6 separate regions of the Homo sapiens genome follow, and regions 1, 2, 3, 4 and 5 are each linked to region 6. The links are contacts of gene promoters, found by promoter capture Hi-C in human tissues and cell types (Jung and others, 2019). All regions are on one chromosome and are shown on one strand. The core of a region is centred on a gene start or on the middle of the fragment in contact, and the rest is flanking DNA. Distances in the headings are between cores, read along the strand shown. Region 1 overlaps SFMBT1 (Scm like with four mbt domains 1). Region 2 overlaps SFMBT1 (Scm like with four mbt domains 1). Region 3 holds the start of SFMBT1 (Scm like with four mbt domains 1). Region 4 overlaps SFMBT1 (Scm like with four mbt domains 1). Region 5 overlaps PBRM1 (polybromo 1). Region 6 holds the start of ITIH3 (inter-alpha-trypsin inhibitor heavy chain 3).

The links. The method cuts DNA at HindIII sites, captures the fragments that hold promoters and counts their contacts. A contact is called where the count stands out against the background at its distance.
Region 1: a contact is called between a fragment that was not itself captured here and the fragment with the promoter of ITIH3 in region 6, in 2 of the 25 tissues and cell types used here (adrenal gland and spleen).
Region 2: a contact is called between a fragment that was not itself captured here and the fragment with the promoter of ITIH3 in region 6, in 2 of the 25 tissues and cell types used here (liver and spleen).
Region 3: the fragment with the promoter of SFMBT1 here is called in contact with the fragment with the promoter of ITIH3 in region 6 in 1 of the 25 tissues and cell types used here (spleen).
Region 4: a fragment that was not itself captured here is called in contact with the fragment with the promoter of ITIH3 in region 6 in 5 of the 25 tissues and cell types used here (bladder, lymphoblastoid cells, mesenchymal stem cells and 2 more).
Region 5: a fragment that was not itself captured here is called in contact with the fragment with the promoter of ITIH3 in region 6 in 2 of the 25 tissues and cell types used here (spleen and thymus).

What each region holds. Positions count from the first base shown.
Region 1 is chr3:52,935,271-52,938,737 of GRCh38, forward strand. The region is part of intron 4 of SFMBT1 (Scm like with four mbt domains 1); the gene reads right to left. Among named protein-coding and RNA genes, the nearest start is that of STIMATE-MUSTN1, 39 kb to the left of the region's middle. The HindIII fragment of the contact is 6,743 bases long and covers 1-3,467 here.
Region 2 is chr3:53,026,530-53,029,683 of GRCh38, forward strand. The region is part of intron 1 of SFMBT1 (Scm like with four mbt domains 1); the gene reads right to left. Among named protein-coding and RNA genes, the nearest start is that of SFMBT1, 18 kb to the right of the region's middle. The HindIII fragment of the contact is 5,578 bases long and covers 1-3,154 here.
Region 3 is chr3:53,044,677-53,047,980 of GRCh38, forward strand. It overlaps SFMBT1 (Scm like with four mbt domains 1), which reads right to left and starts at 1,397. Exons shown (of 21, transcript NM_016329.4): 1 at 1,140-1,397. RefSeq lists silencers at 436-725, 1,086-1,145, 1,246-1,565, 1,616-1,725 and enhancers at 1,713-2,214, 2,215-2,714. The HindIII fragment of the contact is 17,124 bases long and covers 4-3,304 here.
Region 4 is chr3:52,985,686-52,989,171 of GRCh38, forward strand. The region is part of intron 1 of SFMBT1 (Scm like with four mbt domains 1); the gene reads right to left. Among named protein-coding and RNA genes, the nearest start is that of SFMBT1, 59 kb to the right of the region's middle. The HindIII fragment of the contact is 4,868 bases long and covers 1-3,486 here.
Region 5 is chr3:52,652,337-52,655,544 of GRCh38, forward strand. All of the region lies in intron 6 of PBRM1 (polybromo 1), which reads right to left. Among named protein-coding and RNA genes, the nearest start is that of PBRM1, 32 kb to the right of the region's middle. The HindIII fragment of the contact is 3,551 bases long and covers 1-3,050 here.
Region 6 is chr3:52,792,875-52,796,197 of GRCh38, forward strand. It overlaps ITIH3 (inter-alpha-trypsin inhibitor heavy chain 3), which reads left to right and starts at 1,922. Exons shown (of 22, transcript NM_002217.4): 1 at 1,922-2,022; 2 at 2,729-2,749. The coding sequence starts at 1,930. RefSeq lists an enhancer at 1,520-2,409. The HindIII fragment of the contact is 27,249 bases long and covers 1-3,323 here.

The DNA.
Region 1 (3,467 bases), core at 696-3,195, 140 kb after region 6:
AATCTGTTTCATCTAAACCAGGATTTACAAGCTACAACTCGAGGGCTTAATCCAGCCTGCTGTCTGTTTTTGTTAATAAAGTTTTACTGGAACATGGCCATACCCATTTGTTTACATATTGTCTGTGGCTGCTTTCACACTACAAAGGTAGGGTTTTAGCAGCTTTGACAGAGATTGTATGACTAGTAAAGCCTAAAATATTTACTATCTTGCCCTTTACAGATAATTTGCCAATGCCTGGCTTATACCCTCACACTCCACCCATGCCCAACCAAGGATCAGTTAGAAGACAATTCCAGATAGCATATAATTTCATCCATATATATATTTTAGTACATATTTCTAAAAGAAAATATTTTCTTACAAAACCACAATAACAACATCATACCTTTAAAAAATTAACAATAATTCCTTAATATCAAATATCCAGTCTATGTTCAAACTTCCCCAATTGTCTCATAAACAGTTTTGTCAATTTGTTTGATTACATCAGGACCCAAGTGAGACGCACGCATTGCAAATGTCTCCTTGATTTCTTTTCATCAGTAGGTTTCTTCTCCTTCCTCCCCTCCCGTGTCCCTACTCTCTCTTTTTTTACTCCACATTTATTGAGACCTGGCCTTTGTTCTCTATGGAGTTTTTTAGAGTCTGATTTCATTGGTTACGTCCCTGTGGTGACCAGTTGTTCTACTGTTCCCTGTATTTGCCATAAATCAGTATTTAGAGCTAGAAGCTTGATCAAATTCAGGTTAGACTTTGCGGGGTGGTGAGGGTGAAAGAATACTTCACAAGTGGAATAAGTTATACCCTTCCCTCAAGAGCATGAAGAGGCACATATGGTCTGGCTGTCTCTCCCTTTGTGACATTAGCAGCTTTTAACGGTTACTACATAGATGCACTGATTCATTACGGGCTCAATGGTGATATTCTAATTGTATTATTCCTTCTTCATTTACTAACCAAAGAACTTCCATAAAGAAAAATTTCTCTACATCAACTATTTGATTATGCTGAGGTAGATTTCATAGAAAGAAGGCTTTCTTTGAACATATACTTGATTGTCTTTACTCTTTCTCTATATTTACCACCCTTTAAAATAAACAGTTGATTGGCAGGCATCTTCCAAGAGTGGCTAATGAGGGTTTTGTTTCAAAATTTCACTATGAAGTCATACATTAAAACAAATACATTTCAAGCCATTACAGCTGTTGTCCTTACGACACTCTATCTTCAACCAGAGGCAGTCTCTTCAGGTTGGCTCCTGAGACCTTTTGGCATGACACTAGTAAAGAGCCACTGATAACTTTTTTGCTTTTTGGTATGACAAGATGTTCCAGGATCATCTAGGAAATTGCCTGACCTAGTGCAGGACTCAGCTACTTCTGCAAGAAGCCCCAGTTTATTTCCATGGAAATGGTATTTAGAGACCTGGGCATGCTCATTGTCACTGGGTTAGTGTTTCTCGGCCTTTTCAGTGTCTAGAGTTAATGCATTTCTTCTTCTTCTTACATCACAATACTTCCAATACAAATTCAGAAAGATAGTGCTTTCATTTAACTCATCCATCTAAGCTCTATTTCCTTTCTATAACGCTGAAAATCCTAGTTCTCAATTACACATTTCTTTTTTTTTTTTTTTTTTGAGACAGAGTCTTGCTCTGTCCCAGGTTCACGCCATTCTCCTGCCTCAGCCTCCTGAGTAGCTGGGACTACAGGCGCCCGCCACCATGCTTGGCTAATTGTTTGTATTTTTAGCAGAGACGGGGTTTCACCATGTTAGCCAGGATGGTCTCGATCTCCTGACCTTGTGATCCGCCTGCCTCAGCCTCCCAAAGTGCTGGGATTACAGGGGTGAGCCACCACGCCCGGCCACACATTTCATTCTTTATTTGCTTTTGCCTACCATATACAAACAACTATTTCAAAGTAACAACATTAAGTCTACCACCAACAGTAGGATTACTAAAAATAGGTTAAGATTTTTTCTTTGCATTTTTTTTTGTTATTGTTGTCCTTAGAATATATAACCCTAACTGGGGACATACTTTCATATTTTACTGTATTTTTAAGTCACTGAAATAGCTCCTCTTTGTGTGGTTATCCCATAAGCTCCATATACAGTTAGGTTTCCTTGATTTTTAGGAATTGCTTTCTAAACATTTAATTTTGCTTTCTAGTTGCATAAAATATTTACAAGGTTCAAAAGTCAAATCTACAAAATAAAATAAGGTACATTCATAAAATTTAGCTTCTATTCCTACCTCCTTCATTCTTTTCCCTTCTTTCCCCATAGGTAACTTTTTTCTAAATGATTCATTCTTTTTTTTTTTTGAGACGGAGTCTTGCTCTGTTGCCCAGGCTGGAGTGCAGTGGCACGATCTCAGCTCACGGCAACCTCCGCCTCCCGGGTCCAAGTGGTTCTTCTACCTCAGCCTCCTGAGTAGCTGGGATTACTGGCACACACCACTACGGTTGGCTAATTTTTGTATTTTTCGTAGAGATGGGGTTTCACCATGTTGGCCAGGATGGTCTTGATCTCCTAACCTCGTGATCCACCCGCCTCGGCCTCCCAAAGTGCTGGGATTACAGGAGTGAGCCACTGCGCCTGGCCAACGATTTACTCTTTTATTTTGAAAAAAATAAGTTCACACACACACATTTGTATCATCATATCCTTGAGCTCTCCTCCTCCTCAAGTCTGTACACATTTTTCTTTTTTTCATACAATAACATATCCTGAGCCCACTCCTTGGTTGTATGCAGACCCTCCTCCTTTTTATTGCTGTCTATAGCTGCTTTTCTTACAAAGTATCCTTTGTCAGCTATCAAGACTGACAGCTGGTTTCTTTTCTACTGGCAGTTGCCTGTACATCTTTGTCCTTTTATTTTTACTTTTTCGTAGTCTCTCTGCTTAGGTATGTCTCCTATACAGAGGACAAGAGTGGATTTTGCTTTATGAGGCAATCTGAATTTATTTGTTTACTTCTAATAAAAGAGTATGCCCAGTAACACTTATTGATATTATTAATATGCATGGCCTAAATTTCATATTGTTAAATGTTATATACTTCGTGTATATGTAGTTTTTTTTACTATGTGATCTATCCCGTTTACACATATAGTTTCTCTTTCTAAGTCTCTTTCGTCATATAGAAAGGTTCTTATTTTTGTTCTACGGATTACCTTTATATAACACTTTTAGTCCTCTCTATTTTTGGACTACTTTCTATTTTGTTGTTGTTGTTTCTATAAACAATACTGAAGTTAGCTATAAGCCCTTCGTTTTCTCTCCTTCAGCATCTCATTTCAGGTACTATCCTTTTACTCCCAGTTAACATTTAAATAGTTATATTACATGGCAATAAAGCTGTTTTTTTTTTTAAGACAATTAGTGGGCTTATACAACTATTCACGTTTTCCCCATTCTTGTCCCATATTTTTTATAGTAATAATGTAACTACATTTTCA
Region 2 (3,154 bases), core at 161-2,660, 230 kb after region 6:
TAAGGATAGCTGGAATTCCTACCAAGCTGCATGTTCATGGCCACAAGTTAACAGAGTTTACCCTCCCTCCCTGTGCCCCCACAGCTGCTCACTGCAGTTACAGGTAGGTCCCTGTGGGGCTGCCTACAGTCCTAGATATAACAGCCCAGAGATCTGTGTGGTTGGTTCTTAGCCGCACTCTCAAAAAGGAAGAGCTGGCAAGAACCTCAACAAAATTAAATAATAGCTTAAGAAGGAGGCAGCGCTAAAGATAAAGGTTTGAGAAGGGATTTTTTTTCTTCCTTTAGAGACAGGGTTTTGCCCTGTCCCTGGAGAGGCTGGAGTAAGATGGTGCAATCACGGCTTACTGCAGCCTCGACCTCCTGGGTTCAGCCTCCCAAGTAGCTAAGACTACACAATCGTGCCACCGCACCTGGCTAATTTTTCAATTTTTTGTAGAGATGGGGTCTCGCTAGGTTGCCCAGGCTGGTCTCAAACTCCTCGTCTCAACTAATCCTCCCTCCTTGGCCTCCCAAAGTGCTAGGATTATAGGCATGACCCACCATGCCCAACAGGGAAGGGAATTCAAAAGAAAATTTCAGGGTTACTTTCTTATTTTACACTAGATGTTTCCTCTATTAAGACCTGAAATTTTTAGCTTATTAAAAATTCTTACACTAATAATACAATATAGAAGTATTCACAAATCACTAACTCACTGCCATTTACTCCTACAAAAAATCCTTTCTCAAAACAAAACTCTACAAATGTTAGCCCATTCCCCCACCCCCGTTAAAACACCTTCCATAGTAGACGCTTTACACTTTTTTGACAACACTTAAACACAAGTTCTGTATCATTTCCTATCCTGATTATAAGCTTCTCTAGGCCAGGGAACTTACTCAATTTTGCATTCCCTAAACCCCTGGCACCACTGCTTCATGTCACAGCTACTTAGTGTCTGCTAAATGAATTACTATGGTATCAGATCATGGCACCTCCAGTTCACTAATGAGAAAATTCAACTTTTTAACACAGCAATAACATTTCTGCCTCCAGGAATACTGTCATTTTCACAGGAGAAGGAAATTCAGTGATTCAGTGCCTACCATCTGCCCCAGAGGTCAGCTATTTCTGACAAGTCCTAGTGTGCACATGGGCCAATCAGGCTGCAGCTGCCTTTTTTCACAGGCATGGATGGAAGAATGAGAAAGGTCACTAAAGCAGAGTCCGTATGTAAATTCGTTAGGCATCATCCACAGGAAATTTGCTTCCTCTTAAAATCCTGTGAAATTAAAACATGCCTTTAAGCCATTGTTTCTTCCCCCTGTTCTTTAACCCATTTATGCTGGAGGTTGCAAATTTTTTTGTGTGAAAACTCAGACCTTGGTGATGACCTTGAGCACTATGATATAAATAACTCCCACAAGCTTAGCGTTCCAGTAATGGAACAGTAGGCATAAATGGGTTAAACTTTGGATAGTCCAACTTGCCAGGTTACCCCATTGTTTACAAAGCCTTTCACAGTACAAAAAACTTGATTAACCCTAATTGCCTGCTGACGTCTACGGTTGTTTCTTTTTCTCAGACCACTCTTTTTGAGACAGGGTCTTGCTCTGTCATCCAGGGTGGAGTGCAGTGGCTCGAACACAGCTCACTTGGAGGCAGATTCAAGTGATCTTCCTGCCTCAACCACCTGAGTAGCTGAGACTACAGGTGCACACCACCACACTCAACTAATTTTTGTATTTTTTGTAGAGACAGGGTTTTGTCATGTTGCCCATGCTGGTCTCGAACTCCTGGGCTCAAGCAATCCACCTGCCTTGGCCTCCCAAAATGCTGGGATTACAGGCATGAGCCACCATGCCTCGCTTTCAGACCACTTCTTGAAGTCACCTTAGTTCCATAAAACTTGTGTGTTGACATACAGTGTGATACTGTTTCTTTGCCACAAATTCAACTCTACAAGTCACATCTCTTTGTCTGCCTTCATGGGTCAAAACTACTTACTAGCTGGGCATGGTGGCACATGCTTGTACCACTAGTCCCAGCTACTCGGGAGGCTGAGATGGGAAAACAGCTTGAGTCCAGGAGTTGGAGGCTGTAATGTGCTATCATGATCATACCTGTGTATGGTCACTGCATTCCAGTCTGGGTGACATAGCAAGACCCCATCTTAAAAAAAAATTACCTGCTAGAACACAGAATAAATGGCAGAAAGAAGGCCATAGCAGAGCAAACACAACTCAGAAACGCCCAGTCTAGCACTCGTGGCTGGGAACCCTTGCAGGGAAGTGCACAAGTACTCTCAGAGGGGACCTGCCTGCCTGTCACTGGCTTGGTGTGAACACTCTCTGAGCAAGTCACAAGAGTTATGGGCTAGGCCGGGCGCGGTAGCTCATGCCTATAATCCCAGCACTTTGGGAGGCCAAGACAGGCAGATCACAAGGTCAGGAGCTTGAGAAGATCCTGACTAACACGGTGAAACCCCGTCTCTTCTAAAAATACAAAAAAATTAGCCAGGCATGGTGGCGGGCGCCTGTAGTCCCAGCTACTCGGGAGGCTGAGGCAGGAGAATGGCATGAACCCGGGAGGCGGAGCTTGCAGTGAGCCGAGATGCACCACTGCACTCCAGCCTGGGCGACAGAGCGAGACTCCGTCTCAAAAAAAAAAAAAAAAAAAAAAAGTCATGGGCTAGAAATGTACTACCATGGGGGAGAAAAAGAATAGACTACCACAAATTGTCACACTTTTTAGGAAAATATTTTACAGAAAATGGCAGTATGCAGAGCGTTATTGAAGGGTTATAAATATATTCTCTGAGGGGTATTCTGAAGTTCTTTTAATGAAGGATAATAACTAAGAGCTTGGGCTACAAAGGCATATACAACACTGTAAGATTCAACTACAGAATGCTTCAAGATTCCAAACTCAGTTTCTTTAGAAATTCTGCGCCAGAACAGGAGCAGCATTTTTAAAATTCCTTACCAAGTAGCCCAGGTAAAAACCAACTTTTAAAAACTTAGCTATATTTCTGCCAATGTACAAAAGAATACCACCCAAATACAGAAATTGATACAATTTGTTAATCCTTGCTGCTGCAATTTTCTCAAAACGAAAATACAAAAGCAAAGTATCTGAATTCATAACAAGCAGCATACATTCAGGCCTTAGG
Region 3 (3,304 bases), core at 147-2,646, 250 kb after region 6:
AGGGATTGACAAAATCCATCTTACTTCCTTTCGAATCTCTTTGATGGTTACTTGGTTCTCAAACACAGATCACTGCTAACAGGACTCAAAAACACCACTTGGGACCATCAACCAGTGCTGCTTCGGGCGACCCGCTGGGAACACCCCCACCTGACCCAAGCGTCCACCACTCCTTGAGCACAAGCTCTGGGGGTGACCTGTGCCTGCCGGCTTAGTTTTAGACCCTACGGGAACAGCTGACATCTTGTGAAAAACTTAGCATAACGTACATCCTTTCCGCGGGAATTTATTTCTGTTCGCACAAGGCGTTTCTGCTCCGCACAGAGCAGGCCTTGCTTCCCAGGACGCCGCTCGCCCCTCCACAGCCTCCTTTTCAGCGTCCAAAATCGGACTTTAGGAACAGAAATCGAAACGGTCGCGGACCTCCCGAGCGGCAGGTCGGGGCGCTGCCGGGTCGGCGCGGGGTCCAGCGGCGGTGCCCGGCGGGCCGCGGCGCGGGAGAGGCCCGCTCACTTCACAACGGCGGCCCGGAGCCACCGGTTGCGGCGGCCACTAGACGCTCCGCCACCGCGCAGCGACCGCCCGGGCCCTCCGAAGTTCCGACCGGCCGCGCGCCCGGCCCCAGCTGCGGGTTCGCGCCCCGCCCGGAGCGAGCCCGGGGGGCGGGTCCGCGGGGGCTCGGCGGGCGGAGCGCGGGGCGCGCGCGGGGAGGGGCGCGCGGCGGGCCCGGCGCGCCGGGGAACTTGGGCGCCCGCCACTGCCGCCGCCCGGCCACTTTCCTTTCACGCCTCCCGCGGGCTGACGCGCGCCGCGCTGCCTGCCAGGGGCTGACGGCCGCCGCCGCTCTCCGCCGCGGCGAGGCGCCCAGGCGCGCCCCTGCAGCCGGCCGGCCGGCGCGCGGGACCGCGGGGCCGCGCGCGGGCGCCGCGCTCCCCCCGCCCCGCCCCCGCCCCCAACGTGCCGCCGCCGCCGCCCGTTGGCGCCTCAGCCCGCGCGCCCGCCGGCGCCCGGCGGTTTCCCGTTGGCAAAGTTGCGCGGCCGCTTCGAAGGGGACGCCGTACGGTCCCCCGCCCCGGCGCCGCCGCCGCCCCTCCAGGCCGCCGCGCGGGAAGGCCCAGCCGGTGGCCCCGCTTTTTTACCTGCCCGGAGTTTTCGCGCGCGCGCTCGCTCGATCGCTCGCTTTTCCCCCTCTCGCGCTCGTTTTCTTTCTTTCTTTCCGTCTTTTCGCTCCCCCGCGCGGAAGCTTTTTCCTCCCGTGCTGCCCGCGCTCGCCCGCTCGCGCCCTCCTTCCTGCTGGGTTCGGCGGAGCGGGGCGGCCGGCAGCTCTCCCCGCCCCCCTCCACCCGCGCTCCGGCGGAGGCGGCGGCGGCGCTCCGCGCTCCGACTCATTCCAATATGGCACGGACGCAGGGCGCATGCGCCCGCGCCCCCCCACCCCCAGCTCCGCGGTCCTCCAGGCAGCCTGCGCCCCTCGCGCCGCGCCCGTGGAGCTCCCGGGCCCGGCTGCCCCGCTCCCGCCCCAGCGCCATCCCTCCTGGCTGGGGCCGCGCGGGAGGCAAGGACTCCGCGGGCTGGTGTGCCGGGGGTCCGGCGCCGCGGGCCACCCACGCCCCCAGCCAGCAACTCGGCGCGGACGGCCCCGAGGCCGTGGCGCAGGACACGCGGCGGCGCCTCGGGCCCCCGACGGCGCTGTGGCCCCGAGCGGAACGGCCCGGAAGAGGAGACGCGTCCCCGGGAACCCAGTGCCCGCCCTGGCCCAGCCCCGATCCAGCCTGCGCCTCACCTCGGGTTGTAGACAGAGCGGCGGGGATCCCAGAGGGGTTCGCGGGTCGGACCTGGAGTACCGGCCCGGCGAAGCGCGCCGCTGTCGCCCGCACGTGACTGGCTCGGACAAGATGGCATGAGCGGAGAAGCGGCCGGATCCCAGATGCGCGCGTGCCGCCGCCGCGGGCACTGCGCCCGTTTGCCTGCCCCTCGTCGGGGATCGGGCGCTCCCTCTGAGACCTGAAAGGGCACCCAAGTGCCCCCTGTCTGCGAAGTCCGGCGCGGGCCCTTCGGCGCCCCCGATGTCTCTAGGCTTCCGCAGGAGGCGCCCTGTAAATCTTGAGTCTTCCTGCAGCGAGGGGGCACAGGACAGCTGCGAATTGGGACGAACGAGCCCAGAGCCCCGGGAAGGATCAGAACCTCGAAGGCGGCTTCAAGTCGGCCCCGCAGCCCGAGGTGACCGTGGGCGGTTACGTTGCCCGAGCTCGCCCCCTCCTCCTGAGCGCAGGTGCCCGTGGGACATACACCCGCCCACCTGCTCCGGAAAGTTCCCTCCAGAAGGGAGTTCCCGCGCCACCGAGACCCGGGAGCTCCCGATCAGACTCCCAGGCCGTGAAAGGCGTTATCGGACAGGGCCCAGAGGCGCCCCCACAGCAAGAAGAAAGTCTGGGGTTCTCACCGTGTGCCAGGTGCGAGCTCAAGCCACCTCCCTCAACCGCTCTGAGAAATATCCCACTTCACAAACTTGCTCAAAGTCACGCTGCTGGCTGGATTTGAATCCAGATTTTTTTTAGCACCACTGAAAAAACAATATGACAACCGGAGAAAGAAAAATCTAAAAAGAATACAGTAATCCATATTGTTACAAAGAAATGCAACTTTTCACGACATGAAACATATATATACTGTGTATAGTTGCAACCACACTTTTTTTGTTACTACTTTCACTACCATTTTTATTTGTTCACGATTCATTTTTAAGGTGTGCAGGTGTCCTTAACTATTCACTCAGCCCCCTAATGTTTTTGGTTCTTTACGGTTGTTTGCTAACGTATCCTTGAATTCTGCACTTGGGACAAATACCTGGGAGTGGAAAGGCTCCCAGGTAGAAGGCTATGAATGGCCAAGTGGTCTTGGCTTACAGCGTCATATTTTTCCCAAGAGCTGCCCCAATTATTCTACCGCCTCCAAGGAACAAGTGTAAGGAGTTTAACACACTTATAAACATTGAGTGCCATTTCCCCCCTACTTTAATAGTCTATTGCTAGTTCAAGGTTACTTAGCATTTCTTAGGTGACACAACATTCAAAAATGAATGTTTTTCCATGCATTTACTATATGCATTCCCTCTCCTGTGAATAATCTATTCATATCCATCTTCTGGGGACTTGAACCTCTTCTAACTTTGAACAAGCATTTTTTTATGTTACAGATATTACTTCTTTGTCGTCATTGATGCAAATATTTTCTAGCCTGTTGTTCTTTCTTGTTTTATTCTAATGTTCAGTGTGTCATTCTAATGTTTTAATTGCTTCAGTGC
Region 4 (3,486 bases), core at 401-2,900, 190 kb after region 6:
TACGCAAACCTAGATGGTGCGGCCTACTATACACCTAGGCTATACGGTGTAGCCTATTGCCCCTAGGCTACAAACCTGTAGGCAACTGTAACACAATGGTAAGTATTTGTGTATCTAAACATATTTAAACATAGGAAAGGTGTAGTCAAAATATATCATAAAAGATAAAAAATGAGGCCAGGCGAGGTGGCTCACGCCTGTAATCCCAGCACTTTGGGAGGCCAAGGTGGGCAGATCATTTGAGGTGAAGAGTTTGAGACCAGCCTGGCCAACATGGTGAAACCCCGTCTCTACTAAAAATACAAAAATTAGCTCGGTGTGGTAGTGGGCGCCTGTAGTCCCAGCTACTCAGGAGGCTGAGGCAGGAGAATTGCTTGAACCTGGGAGGTGGAGGTTGCAGTGAGCTGAGATCATGCCACTACACTTCAGCCTGGGAGACAGAGTGAGACTCCGTCTCAGGAAAAAAAAAAAAAAAAAGATAAAAAATGGAACACTTATATAGGGCACTTATCATGAATGGAGCTTGCAGGACTGGGAAGTTGTTCTGGGTGAGTCAGTCAGTGGTGAGTGAATGTGAAGGCCTGGGATATTACTGTATACTACTGTAGACTTTCTAAACACTGCACATGTAAGCCACATTAAATTTGTTTTAAGAATACTTTTCTTCCTTCCATAATAAATTAACCTTAGCTTACTGTAACTTTATAAACTTTTTGATTTTTAAAATTTTTTTGACTTTCTTGTAATAACACATAGCTTAAAATACAAACACTGTATAGCTGTACAAAAATATTTTTTTGGTCGGGCGCCATGGCTCACGTCTGTAATCCAATACTTTGGGAAGCCGAGGTGGGCAGGTGACCTGAGATCAGGAGTTTGAGACCAGCCTGGCCAACATGGCAAAATCCCATCTCTACTAAAAATACAAAAAAAAAACTTAGTCGGGCAGGCATGGTGGCAGGTGCCTGTAGTCCCAGCTACTCGGGAGGTTGAGGCAGGGAAATCGCTTTAACCTGGGAGGTGGAGGTTGCAGTGAACCGAGATCGCGCCACTGCACTTTAGCCTGGTGACAGAGCAAGACTCTGTCTCAAAAAAAAAAAAAAAATTAGCAGGGTGTGGTGGCGAGTGCCTGTAATACCAGCTACTCAGGAGGCTGAGGCAGGAGAATCGCTTGAACCCGGGAGGTGGAGGTTGCAGTGAGCCGAGATCGTGCCACTGCTCTCCAGTCTGGGCGAAAGAGTGAGACTCCATCTCAAAATATATATATTTTTTCTTTATATCCTTATTCTATAACTTTTTTCTATTAACTTTTTATTTACTTGTTAAAACTTTTTGTTAAAAACTAACACAACAGCCTAGGACTACACACGACCAGGATCATCAATATCGTTGTCTTCCACCTCCACATCCTGTCCCACTGGAAGATCTTCGGGAGCAATAACATGCATGGAGCTGCCATCTCCTTGATAACAGTGCCTCCTTCTGGAATACCTCCTGAAGGACCTGTCTGAGGCTGGCTTACAGTTAATTTTTTTTTAATAAATAAAAGGCATATACTCTAAAATAATGATTTAAAAGTACAGTAAATAAACCACAGTTATATATTATGATCAAGTATTATGTACTGTACATAACTGTATGTGTTATGCTTTTATACAACTGCCAGTGCAGGTTTATTTACACCAGTACCACAACAAACACGAGTAGGTATCTCACTATGACTTTAGGATGGCTACTACATCATCATTAGGCCATAGGAATTTTTCATCTCCATTATAACTGTATGGGACCACCGTCATATATACAGGCCACCATTGACTGAAACACCATCATGCCATGCATGACTGTAGATAGGAAGCAGCAGGGGCAGCATTTGAACCCTCATCTGATCCCAAGCCTGAGCTCCTTAGTGTTTCTGGGCTCTGGGGCTTTTCTTGGAGCTCAGAGAATACAAGGATAATTGTGAGGTATGTCTTATACCATAGAGTGATGGCCCTAGATGATCTGCGCTCAAGTTGTTTTATTCATTCATTCATTTAACTTCTAAGTTCCATACTGTTCTGCTTAGAATGGTGAGTAACCAAGAGTCTGGATGGCACCTAGACAGATGCTGCCATCTATAAGCTTCTAAAATCTTATTCTAGTAGGGCCCTAAAACAGATTAATTCATATGAAAGGATACAGTACACATTTTTAAATTAAAACACATTTCCTTATTAATTCTTTAATGGAATGGAATAACACTGAATTAAGAATGGAATAACACTGAATTTAGCCAAAAGGCTAAAAAAATCAGTGTAATAAACAGCCATCATCAAAAATGTCAGAATCATCAGGAAAGCATAAAAAACAAAGTCTTTCCCCAACGGAGTAACAGGCTCTGCCTCAACCCAGAAGAGAGCTGAGGGGAAGTTATAGTGGTTGACTTAGAGAGACCCTTGGGAGGTCCAATCACTCACCAAACTTTAACTCGTGATTATAAGAGAGGATGCTCTGGGGATTTTGCTGCTTTGTATTGTTACATTAAACATACAAGCATTTTTAAAAGCTCTATGTTAGAATTTAAAGATGCCTAGACTATAGACACATATGCTGTACAATTAATTCACTGGAATTTTTTTTAAGTTTAAGGCCCTATAAGAACTAGATTATCAGTTATAAATATTGAGAACTTTTGGATAGGCTACCACCCCTCAAAAATCACGACAGGCAACCATACAGGTCAGTCCCTCAAGAACACCTCAAGAACCTGTCCCTCAAGAACGCCTCCCAACTCCAGGGTAATGCTGCTGCGAGGGTATCCTCGGGGAAACACAATGGTGAATGTCTGCTGCAAAACACTGAGCCAATACCTAAGAGGCATGCTGAACATTTAACAACAATGATACTAGGAACAAGTATTAGTTATTTAGAAAAAGTATAAATTATTTAGAACACAAAACAACTCTTCAGGAGCTTTTAAAGTAAGTGCTTCCAAAAAAGGAGTAAATCTCTGGTTACTACTAGAGATGTACTACGTAACACATTAAATCTGTAAAATAATTTGGCACAAAAAGTTAAATGGACATGAGGAAAAAAACCAGCCTAGGTTATGATAATTAATTAGGAATCTAAACAGACTTATATGCAAGATGTAAAACCAAAACCCTAACTGGCAGAATAGCAGTCTACTTACTTACCTGTTATTTCCAAAGCGCAGCAGGACACTTGGCAGCCTTCTGTTTGGTTAGTATTAGACCCTAGTCACACCTTAATAGTTGTTTTTATAGATTTCAGTACCCCCACACCTTTCAATCTAACATATGTAAACATTCTCTGAAAACCAAAAGTATCTAATGTTAAATATATAGAAATTTTTGGTTAAATCTCTACACCTGTTAAACAGAAAGATTCCTCTTCCTGATTTCTTTTCTCCACTTTTCTATTCTTTCCTTAAAAATAATTTGGTTTCTTTCCTACCACTAAATTATTATTTTGTGAACTTAA
Region 5 (3,208 bases), core at 25-2,524, 140 kb before region 6:
TCGTGCCATTATACTCCAGCCTGGGGGACAAGAAAGAGACTTCGTCTCAAAAAAAAAAAAAAAAATTCTAGGCAGGGCACGGTGGCTCACACCTGTAATCCCAGAACTTTGGGAGGCCGAGGCGGGTGGTTCACGAGGTCAGGAGATTGAGACCATCCTGGCTAACGTGGTGAAACCCTGTCTCTACTAAAAATAGAAAAAAAATTGGCTGGGCATGGTGGCATACAACTATAGTCCCAGCTACTCTGGAGGCTGAGGGAGGAGAATCGCTTGAACCCAAGAGGCAGAGGTTGCAGCGAGCCGAGATCATGCCACTGCACTCCAGCCTGGGCGGCACAGCAAGACTCCATCTCAAAAAAAAAATAAATAATCTAAATTCGGCAAGGCGCGGTGGCTCACACCTGTAATCCCAGCACTTCGGGATGCTGAGGCAGCTGGATCACTTGAGGTCAGAAGTTCAAGACCAACCTGGCCAACATAGCGAAACCCTGTCTCCATTAAAAATACAAAAATTAGCCAGGCATGGTGGTGTGCGCCTGTAATCCCAGCTACTCAGGAGGCTAAGGCAGGGCAATCACTTGAGCGCAGGAGATGGAGGTTGCAGTGAGCCGAGATCACGCCATTGTACTCCAGCCTGTGCAACAGAGCAAGATTCCGTCTCAAAAAACAAACAAAAATTCTAAATTCACAGAATTATACAATTTTTCATTTAAGGTCCCAAGATATCTATGCCTAGAAATAAAGTAGAAGAAATGCTCTTTAGGAGTTTGTTACAAGCTCTTTTAATTTTGCAATCTAAATAACGTTATTATATAATATTCACATAAACTTTCATAAGGATCTGTAAGAAGTCAGGTTGCAAAATTTGTTAGCTTCATGTTTAACTTGATGCTTCTGCTTATTTCAGTCAAAGTAAGTTTTTTCAAAACAAAATACCTTTTGAATGAAACTTTGTTAAAGAAATGAAGCACGGCTGGGCATGGTGGCTCGCGCCTGTAATCCCAGCACTTTGGGAGGCTGAGGTGGGTGGATCACCTGAAGTCAGGAGTTCGAGACTAGCCTGGCCAACATGGTGAAACCCCATCTCTACTAAAAATTCAAAATTAGCCTGGTATGTTGGTGCATGCATGTAATCCCAGCTACTTGGGAGGCTGAGGCAGGAGAATCGCTTGAACCTGGGAGGTGGAGGTTGCAGTGAGCTGAGATTGCTCCATTGCACTCCAGCCTGGGCAAGAAGAGCAGAATTCTGTCTCAAAAAAAAAAAAAAGAAAGAAAGAAATGAAGCAAAATTCTGGTCAGGCATGGTGGCTCATGCCTGTAATCCCTGCACTTCGGGAGGCCGAGACGGGCAGATCACGAGGTCAGGAGTTCAAGACCAGCCTGGCCAATATGGTGAAACCCCGTCTCTACTAAAAATACAAAAATTAGCTGGGTGTGGTGGCGGGTGCCTGTAATTCCAGCTACTCAGGAGGCTGAGGCAGGAGAATCGCTTGAACCTGGGAGGCAGAGGTTGCAGTGGGCTGAGATCACGCCACTGCACTCCAGCCTGGGTGACAGAGCAAGACTGTCTTGAAAAAAGAAAAGAAATGAAGCAAAATTATTAGCAACTTCTGATTTATCAAATACTAGGTCATCCCAAGAAATTGAACATGTTGAGGAATGTCCTTGAAGCTTTCACAACAACCTAGAATCACTCACTGCACTCAGGCTTTCCTACAGATTTTCTTCCTTGGAGGAAATAACTGAAGTTGCCCAAATATCAAAAGTTGGTCTTATCAGATGGGAGAGGTTCAGGGGAAGTCAGATTGTGCTCTCCCAACTCTTCCCACCTGTTCAAACCCTACTGAAGCCCACGCAGCAACAACAAAAGCAGAAAGCCACAGCCTTCACTCAGTTACTGGGCTGAACAGATTATCTCAGTGTTGTTTTATCTCATCTGTCCCCTAAGCTTACCACTACTTTCTTAACCCTACTCCTTCCTTTACTTGGATGAATCTCCATTGCTGCCCCTTCTCTTCACCAGTTCTACTTCTGAGAGAAAGTTCAGAGGACAAATTATGGCAAGGCCACCCAGCATGGAGTACAAAGTAATTCAAAGTCATCCAATCCCACAAATTCCCAATCTATCTCTCCCATGCAGCCAGCTTGCTTGGGACGGACTTACTAAGGAAAGGTGAAAACTGTCCTGCCCCTTCAGCTGTCAATCCTTGTTGTCTTTCAAACTGTCACACCCTGAGAGACCAATAGAAACCTGCTTTTCCCAACCAGCTCCTTCAAGGTGACCTTGAAGGGGGAATGGGGGGAACTAATTATTGATGTTTCATTGCCCCATATCACTGTTGTTGATTTGACCATCACTGATTATCTCCTGCAGGGTAAGAATAAATCTTGAGCGAAGACAGTACTTCTATTTTGTGTGTATGTGTGCATGTGTGAATGAGAGTTGACAGAGAGCGAGAGAGAGAAAAAGAGACGGGGTCTCTTTCTGTTGCCTAGGTTGGAGTGAAGTGGCATGATCACAGCTCACTGCGGCCTTGAACTCCTAGGCTCAAGTGATCCTCCAAACTCAGCCCCACCAAACAGCTGTGACTACAGGTGCACACCACCATGACTAGCTAATTAAAAAAATTTTTTTTGTAGAGACAGAGTCTCAGCTATGTTGGCCTCTCAAAGCTCTGGGATTACAGGTGTGGGTCACTACACCTATCCTGTACTTCTTTTATAATTTTTTTTACTGTAATAAAATAAATTTCATGTAGTAACATGAAATTTGCCATTTTTAAGTGTACAGTTCTGTGGCATGAGGTACACTCACACTGCTGTGCAACTATCACTGACATCCACCTCCAGAACTTTTTAATCTTGCAAAATGGAAACTCTGTACATATTAAACAACTCCCCATTCCCTCCAGCCCCTGGCAACCACCATTCTAACTTTATGTCTCTAAGATTTTGAGTATTCTAGGTACCTCATATAAGAAATCATACAGTATTTGTCCTTTTGTGACTGGCTCATTTTGCTTAAAATAATGTCTTTAGAGTTCATCCATGTAGGATGTTTCAGAATTTCCTTCCTTTTTAACGCCAAATAATATGCCACTGTATGTATATGTCACATATACATTCATTCACTGATGGACACCTGAGTTGCTTCCATTTTTAGCTATTGTGAATAATGCTGCTATGAATATGGGTATACAAATATCTC
Region 6 (3,323 bases), core at 672-3,171:
AGCAGCTACAGAATCCCTATTTCGAGTTGTCCGTCTCCCCAAACTCCAGGCACTTGGGGATGAGGCAGTGGTCCAGATGAGAGAGTACAGGAGAAGCTCTGCAGGCAGCTGCAGGTCCGTGAGGAGGAGCCATTGGGCAACAGTGCCAGCCACCCAGTGCCAGCAGCCACAGGACTGAAAACATCCCAGAAGCCAGGAAATGAGGACACGGCAGCTCTGAGGGGTCTTCTCTCCACACCCAGGCGCCAGCACCTGCTGGGTTTGGCCTCCATCAGGCCCGAGCTTGGTGCCTGCTGCCAGTGAGGTTGGTGTAAGGGTTCAGGAGGCCCGAGGGAAACAGGCACCGCCCAGCCAGACACCAAGCACAGGCAGCATCTGCCACTTGGCCATCATTTCACTGGCTTGGAAACTCCCTCTTTTCAATTTTTTTTTTTTTTTTTGAGACGGGGGTCTCGCCCTGTCATCCGGGCTGGAGCGCAGTGGCACGAACACAGCGCTCACTGCAGCCTCGAACTCCTGGGCCCAGGTGATCCTCCAGCTTCAGTCTCCCAAAAAGCTGGGATTACAGGCAAGAGCCATAGTGCCTGGCTGATTTGGCAACTCTCCATCATTGCTCTGTGGCTGCTGCCTCTTCCAGCCATTAGACCACACCCTCCTCAGGGCTTCCGCTGCCCCGTGGCATCTGCCTTTTGCCTTCTTGGTTCCTCTGCTCCCAACAACTCTCTCTGCACATCTCCCAGTCAGCACCAGAGCTTTCAGCTGAGGCCGCTGAACTCCCCATAAGTTAGTTGTCCTGGACCCAGCCGTCCTTGTCGACTCCATTCAGTAGTGGGCTGCCCAGTGGGAGGGTCACAGGGTCAGCTTGGCTCAGAGAAGCCATGGGTATGGTGGGTGTGCAACAGCTGCCCTGATGGGGCTAGGCTGGCAGGGTCCTGAGGTGGCTCAGGAGGTCCCAGCCCCCACTGAGACCAGGTCCTGCCTCTAAAGCTCCTGTTGTCCTGGAAGCTGGAGCCCAGCCTCACTACGACTTTTAGGGCAATGACTCCCCAAAAGGCTGAGGGCAGCCAAGTCCCTGGCTGGGCCCTGGAAGCACAGAGGGAAACATGACATGGTCCAGCCCCCAGGAGCTCTGGGTGCAGAGGGGGCAGGCAGACCTGAGCACATCCACCTCAACATAAGGTCATGACAAAGCAGGCCCTCAGGGGGCTTGGGGCTTGGAGCAGGGATGTCCCATAGTCCTCTAGGGGATGGCCAGGGAAGGGTCCTGGAGGGGAGGCACTGGGACTGGCAGAGAGATGAAAGATGTGACATGTGCAGAAGGGGAGGGTGTGCTGGTGCAAGAGAGTGAGCTCAGAAAAACAAGCTGGGGTCAGATCACAGAGACAGCTGGGCTTCCGGGATCGTTGTGTGTCCTTTCCCTGGGGCTTTGGGGGCCATAGAAGGGTAGTGAGCGAGGGGCTCTGCTGTGGAGGTCCCAGCCTGAAGGTGACAGTCTAGTTTCACGCCCTGGCTGCCTCAAGAAGGGAGGGGCTGCAATCCAGGAGGCCAGAGAGAGGCTGTCCCAGTGGTAGGGATAAGAGGCAACAATGCTGAGATGCCCTTTGCCCTAAATGCAACTCCACACCCCATCTCCATCATCCACGCCAGGGAGTCCCAGGGTCCATTTGTTGGCCCACAGCTTCTGCTTTCCTGCGGGCCTCTTCCGAGTCCCCCGGTCTCTCAGGAATGAAGCCCCAACGCTGTTGGCAAGACCCACCAGGCCTTCTTCAGACAGACACATCGAGGGACCCGTCATTCCACCCATGCCCAGCTTCCCGGAGGCCCTTCCTGCCTCCACTCCTCCCACCCCCGCTGCAGGTCACTGACCCTGCTTGGAAAACACCAGGCTTGCTCATATAAGGAGCGTGGGCCAGGCCTGAGTATTCAGCGATGGCATTTGCATGGTGGCCCTGTCTCATCTTGGCTCTGCTCTCCAGCTTGGCAGCCTCTGGCTTCCCGAGAAGCCCCTTTCGGCTGCTTGGGGTGAGTCTGCCCCCTCTTTGCCATCTGGGTCTTGGTGTGGAATGGGCAGAAGGCATCATGCTGGGCAAGGCCTCTGAGTGGAGTGAAGAGGAGGCAGAGGGCTGGGCACTGAGCTGCTGGGAGTAGTGTGGACACTGGGAGAACCGGGCTCCAGCTGAGGCCTATGCTAACCTGTTGTCTAACCCTGGGAAGGCTCTTAAAACTCCCTGGGCCTCAGCTTCCCCACCTGTCAAAAGAGCAATGCACCAGGAACTGCTCACTTCACTGAGGGGCAATGAAGGTTCAAGTCTCAAACGAGTGTGACCTCTACAAAATGCTCAGTTGAGCCCTGCGGGGTGTGGCGGGGGCAGGGGTGCTCTGGAAGGAGGCCTAAAGGGGCCTGGGGGCCAGGGAAAGGCAGAATGGGAGATAGAATGAGGTGGGGCATGTAGGGTGTGAAGAGAGCTCTGGGTTCAGTTCCCCCTGCCCTGCTCTCCTGGTAACCTGGATACCTGCCCCTCTCTGGACCTCAGTTTCCCCATCTATTCAGAGTTTTTCCTACTCTGACATGTGGCTCTGGAGGGTCCTATGTCTGGGGGCCACTCAGGTGTGTGGGGGGCAGGGCACCACTGAACCCCTGGTCTCAGCCCAGAGCCTCCCAGGCCATGCGGCCTTGGTGTTGGCCTTGGCCTGATTCCTGTGTTTGTGTTTGTTTTTGTTTTTTCAGAAACGGAGCCTCCCGGAAGGGGTAAGAACTTTCACCAGGGGGTGGGACCGAGTGGGGCAGGGCAGGATGGAGCTGGTTCCCCAACTGCTGAAGGTGTAGGCTATAACAGCTGACTCCTCACAGCTGGCAAACAGCTTACGGCCCTCTGCCCTGGCAGCCTCCAACAGCGCAGGACTCCTGGGAAAGAGCACCACAGAGTGACGACCCCTCCAACCTCGCAGGATGTAGCCCAAGAGGGCCCCTCACAGGCATCCCTTCCTTCCGCAGACACTTCCTTAGCACTTGCTGGTACCTGGCTCTGTGAAGCGGTCCCTGCCACACCCTCACGAAGCATCTTTATATCCCTAGGGGGAGGGGGCTGGAACACCTCCCTAGAGCCTCTCAAAATTCAACACCCCTATTGGAAAGAGGGTGTTTGGAGACTTCCCTTGGCACAGGAAATCAGTTCCTCTTTGGGAGACAGAATGAGGCAATTACCTAAAGACCCAGGAGGTGGGCTGGGCTGTGTGCTTGAGGGAGTGTGAGGTGTGGAGGATGAGCAGGAAGAGCCAGGGGCAGATGCTCCAGAGCCAGTGTCCCACGCATAGCTGGAGCT